2 separate regions of the Homo sapiens genome follow, and region 2 is linked to region 1. Evidence: promoter capture Hi-C in human tissues and cell types (Jung and others, 2019). All regions are on one chromosome and are shown on one strand. Each heading gives the region's core, a stretch centred on a gene start or on the middle of the fragment in contact. The rest is flanking DNA. Distances are from core to core; before and after follow the strand shown.

Region 1 (2,777 bases), core at 72-2,571:
TCGATCATTACACATTGTATACATGTATCAAAATATCACATGTACCTCCAAAATATCTACAAATATGATATATCAATTCTAAAAATACAAAAAAAAATCATTAAACTATAGGGCATCTAGGTGGTAGAAAATAATGCAACTTAACTGCAGTATGGAAATATGGAGCAGTCTTCAAAATATTAAGTTAAAAAAGAAAAGGAAAGAAAAAAGGAGAAAGGTGTGCTAACAATTGATTATGTCTTTTATGAAAATTATATATATATATATATATATATATATATGTTTTTATCCATGCATAAACTATTAATGGAAGGATTCCCAAGAAACATATTACTGGCTGCCTCTAGTGAAAAGGAAAAAGATTTCAAAGCCCCAAGCATGAGAGTCTTACTTTTCATTGTTTATATTTTTCATTTTATTTTGATTTTTACCATGTATAGATAATATATCTTAAAATAAAATCAAAATTATATTTAAAATTTTAAGACTATTATATCCTTTGTATATATAATTTTTGCATCACTTTTGAAACTCTACTCAAGGAAAACAATATTAAAAGCAAAATACCTGTCAGTAAATTATAGAATAGCCAAATGCAAAAATTTAAAGCAGCAATTAAAATTAACATCACACTTTTTAAATAATATTGTGAAGTCTTTGGTTAATGTATTCATCCATGAAATAAAATTTTTGAGTGCTTATATTACATCTTAACACATACTGCTAAAAGACAAAAACAAGATACAAAATCATCTCTAGATAATGATGTAGACTGTTTAAAAATAAAATAGAAAATTGGAAATAAATCAAATACTAACATTTGTTATCTGTTAGTGATAAGACTGTTGTTAATATATGTGGACATGCTTATTAGACATACAAGTGGTGATGAAAAATAGTTATTCCAACTCTTCTGTTTAGAATTTTTTTGCTTTTTTTGTTATTCCTCTGTGGAATATTTCCAGAAGTCAAATAAAGTTGAGGGTCATTCATGAATAAAAGGAGCTGGTTCATTATTGAGGAGCTCTTACCAAGACACTTAACTTTTTGTTTTGTTTTGTTTTTTAAGACAGGGTCTCACTCTGTTGTCCAGGCTGGGGTGCAGTGGCACAATCTCGGCTCACGGCAACCTCCGCCTCCCAGGTTCAATGATTCTCATGCCTCAGCCTCCCAAGTAGCTGGGATTACAGACAGGCACCACCACACCCAGCTAATTTTTGTATTCTCCGCAGAGATGAGATTTTGCCATGTTAGCCAGGTCAGTCTCGAGCTCCTGACCTCAAATTATCTGCCTGTCTCAGCCTCCCAAAGTGCTGGGATTACAGGCATGAACCACGATGCTCAGCCCCTTAGCTGAACTTTTAAACAGAGATTTCTTCTATTTCAGACAGACACTGAGACTGAGGCACCCATTCCATGGATACCTCCACCAGTGTTACCTATGACTCCAGCCTCCAGATTTCCCAGTTCATCCTGATGGGATTACCAGGCATTCATGAGTGGCAGCACTGGCTCTCCCTGCCCCTGACTCTGCTCTACCTCTTAGCTCTTGGTGCCAATCTCCTCATCATAATCACCATTCAACATGAGACCGTGCTACATGAACCCATGTACCATTTGCTGGGCATATTAGCAGTGGTGGACATTGGCCTGGCCACCACCATCATGCCCAAGATCCTGGCCATCTTCTGGTTTGATGCCAAGGCCATTAGCCTCCCCATGTGTTTTGCTCAGATCTATGCCATCCACTGCTTCTTCTGCATAGAGTCAGGCATCTTTCTCTGCATGGCAGTAGACAGATACATAGCCATCTGTCGCCCTCTTCAGTACCCCTCCATAGTCACTAAAGCTTTTGTCTTCAAAGCCACAGGGTTCATCATGCTCAGGAATGGCCTGTTGACCATCCCAGTGCCTATACTGGCTGCCCAGAGACACTACTGTTCCAGGAATGAAATCGAGCACTGCCTCTGCTCTAACTTGGGGGTTATCAGCCTGGCTTGTGATGACATCACTGTGAACAAATTTTACCAACTGATGCTAGCATGGGTCTTGGTTGGGAGTGATATGGCTCTGGTATTTTCTTCCTATGCTGTAATCCTTCACTCTGTGCTGAGGCTGAACTCAGCAGAAGCAATGTCCAAGGCTCTGAGCACTTGTAGCTCCCACCTCATCCTCATCCTCTTCCACACAGGTATCATTGTGCTGTCTGTCACACACCTTGCAGAGAAAAAGATTCCCCTTATTCCTGTGTTCCTTAATGTGCTGCACAATGTCATCCCCCCTGCACTCAACCCCCTGGCCTGTGCACTCAGGATGCACAAACTCAGACTGGGCTTTCAGAGACTGCTTGGACTGGGTCAGGACGTGTCCAAGTAACTCCAGCTTTAGGAATCCAGTAAGATGTTAGGAAATGACAGAGGTTTTAGTTCTCAATAGATCAGGGTTATAATCTGCACTTACCACACTCCCTAGGAAAAAAATGGCCAATAAAATCATGAAAACTGTCAGCCTCACTAATCAAAATATGTATATTAAAATTACAAGAAAATTTCCTATTACCTGGAAAATAAGTAAGAACAAAAAAGTGAAATGTTTCTAACTATTACTGCTAGCCTACCCCGAGATTAACACTTTCCTACACAACTGGTAGGACTATAAACACACCAAAAAGCAATTTGGTAAAATTTATCAAAATGTTTATAAATGTTTAAATGTTCTTAACCAGTAATTCTATTTTAGAAAAATATCCAAAAGAAATAGTCTAAATGCAGTCAAAA
Region 2 (2,777 bases), core at 178-2,677, 190 kb after region 1:
AAGTGGGGGGACTATAAGGAAAAAATTGTGCTTAATTTGAAAATTACGTGTTGTCATTCCAGAGCACACCTGACTTGTCTGATTCCAATTCTGTGGGAGCTGTTTTGCAGCTCTATAAAGTGTAGATAACTGGCAGCAATGCTAAATCATTCTTGTCTATAGATATGCAAATGAATGCTGTCCGGTAAAACAACAACAACAACAAAAAAAACCCCATCTGGCTGTATTTGCACAGTCATTTTAATATTCCGGATCTATAAATGTGTCTGTCCTTGGGATTCTCCTTTCACCTGGTTGTAATACTTCACTGCTTTCCTCATGAATTAGTTAAATAAAAACTTTAACTCATGTTTATTCTTATATCTGTATAAGAGTACTGATCTTACCTGTTTATGAAAATTATCTTTTAATGGCTACTTAGAACTAAATTATCCTTTAATGGCTTGTCCCCGTCTTTGTTTTAGCCACAGAGGGCCTAGAGACTTTAAGGCAAAGTATCAGAGACTTTTGAGGCAGCCCAGTCTGGCGACTTTCCCAGCAACCTAGCGCAGAAACTTTCTAGAAGCTTTATGATGACATCCCTGTTCAGAAGCACTTGGTGTTTTTTCTGTTCTATTGACTGAGGTGTCCTGACACTATTTTGGCAGACATTGTAATGTGCTGAGAAGTTGTACCAGGTATCTCATCATCAAAATGGAAATTTCAAAAGGCTGTCCTGAGTAGCCCCTGAGATTGTGCACCCCACTTTAGCGATGGCTAATATATCCTATTGTCAATGCATAGATGACGGTAATGATAATGGCTTGCTGGAAAAATGCTGAGGATACTTGTCCAGTTCAGAAAAAAGGCCTTCATCTTTCACCACAGTATATGCCCTCCTGGGTATTTATGGCTTGCTTGAGTGTGTGTAGGACCACCGTCATTATCAAAACATGTATTCCTAACAGCAGAGAGTGAGACCTTTTCTTAGGACGGTTAATAAACAAACCCAGAAGTTAATGTTACCTTGGGAACATGTCAAGTTTCTGAGTCATAAAGCCCCAAGTTAGTAGCTGGAAAGTCCATCATCAAGGTTAAGGGCATCCCCCAGAATGCTAGAATGATTTTGACAATTTGAAAAACTTTGTTTAATTATTGCTCAGGGAAGAAACATCCACAAACATCTTTGTTTAGCAGAGGACTTCTGTGACAGATGAGCCAAAGTAAGTAAAAAGAACAAAACAAGCCAGGCGAGTTGGCTCATGCCTGTAATCCCAGCACTTTGGGAGGCTGAGACAGGCGGATCACCTGAGGTCAGGAGTTCGAGAACATCCTGGCCAACATGGCAAAACCCCATCTCTACTAAAAATACAAAAAAGTTAGCCAGGCATGGTGGCACTGGCCTGTAATCCCAGCTACTCAGGAGGCTGAGGCACCAGAATCGCTTGAACCCGGGAGGCGGAGGTTTCAGTGAGCCGAGATCGGCCACTGCACTCCAGCCTAGGCGACAGAGTGAGAATCCGTCTCTGAAAAAAAAAAAAAAAAAAGAACAAAACAAATTAAAAAGTTTTACACAAGTGTGTCATTGTTAACAGTTTGATATACAGCCTATCATGACTCAGTCCTTTGTTTCTGGATCATCTAATTTAGGACAAAGCTATTTTGAGCTGGGGAAAAGAAATTTCTGGAAAATTGAGAAAATAGTGTTAGTAGAGGAAGGCTCCTTTGCAGTACCTATTGCTTTCATGAGAAGGATTTTTCCCTAAACCCTCTGACCCTAGGTCTTATGCCTCTCAAGTGAATTGCCTGACTTGAAAGGGGAACTGGGTGTGTGTGGCCCAGCCCTGTCCTCCTGCCCTCTTTCTCTCCCTCTGGGAATCTTCCTATCTACAGAGCGGTAGTGCTGATGGCTGCTTGACTCTGGTTTTTCAGGTCAGACTATAACTTGGCAAATCTCTCTGATACCAGAGGAGTTCAGGATTGGGAAGTCTACTGTTGCCACATACTTCTATTCCAACTTTATTAGGGAACAGAGATGCTATTTATCGGGCTACCACCCCAATATTTATTATCAATGTTTCTTTAGAAAATTGCCTGGGGGCTTTAGGTTCTGGCAGTCATCATACAGGGAGTTACAGTGTCATTTAAGGGTATCAAATTAGAAAACAGCTGTGGAAAATTATGTGAAAACCCAATTTCCACGGACACTGTGGACATGGTGATTGTGGATGTGTAATGAACAGGGCCCATGATAAGAATGTAATTGAACAATGCTTTTCCACATTCAGCACATCCAGAATCTCAGAATCCTTTACATAATTCAGAATGTATCTTGCCAGAACAAGAGAGACCACATCATAAATGTGAATTCTAAATACACAGCTCTTTTTAAAATCTACCATGACTAATTATAACTGTTGGCTCAACAGATGTACCCCCACTCCATCACCCTTCTTTTTGGAAACACAATACCACTAAGAGCCCCTGCAAGATATCCTCCTGATGGGTCTAAAAAGCCCTCTGCTGACAAGTACCGCCTGAGAATGAGTCTTACACACCTGCTCGGCAGGCTGTGCACATCTCAAATATTCAGGGAAGCAAGGAGGAAGGGGTATGGCCCTCCAGGGTGCTGCTGTCAAGCACCGTAGCAGAGTAACCTACTGGAATTACTTGTAAAACCATCCCCACAAAAGCAAAAATCCATATGCTGCCTCTTGTCGTTCCAGAGGCAATAGTTAAGTTGTACACACGGAAAAGACCCAAATTCGGGGTTGTCGCTTCCTGATCATTTTTGTCCT

What was found. The method cuts DNA at HindIII sites, captures the fragments that hold promoters and counts their contacts. A contact is called where the count stands out against the background at its distance.
Region 2: a contact is called between a fragment that was not itself captured here and the fragment with the promoter of OR56B4 in region 1, in 2 of the 25 tissues and cell types used here (mesendoderm cells and spleen).

The regions. Positions count from the first base shown.
Region 1 is chr11:6,106,363-6,109,139 of GRCh38, forward strand. OR56B4 (olfactory receptor family 56 subfamily B member 4) reads left to right here and starts at 1,322. Exons shown (of 1, transcript NM_001005181.2): 1 at 1,322-2,473. The coding sequence starts at 1,417. The coding sequence ends at 2,376. The region is part of intron 2 of LOC124902622 (a long non-coding RNA gene); the gene reads right to left. The HindIII fragment of the contact is 6,854 bases long and covers 1-2,777 here.
Region 2 is chr11:6,299,455-6,302,231 of GRCh38, forward strand. No RefSeq gene overlaps it. Among named protein-coding and RNA genes, the nearest start is that of CAVIN3, 20 kb to the right of the region's middle. The HindIII fragment of the contact is 4,182 bases long and covers 1-2,777 here.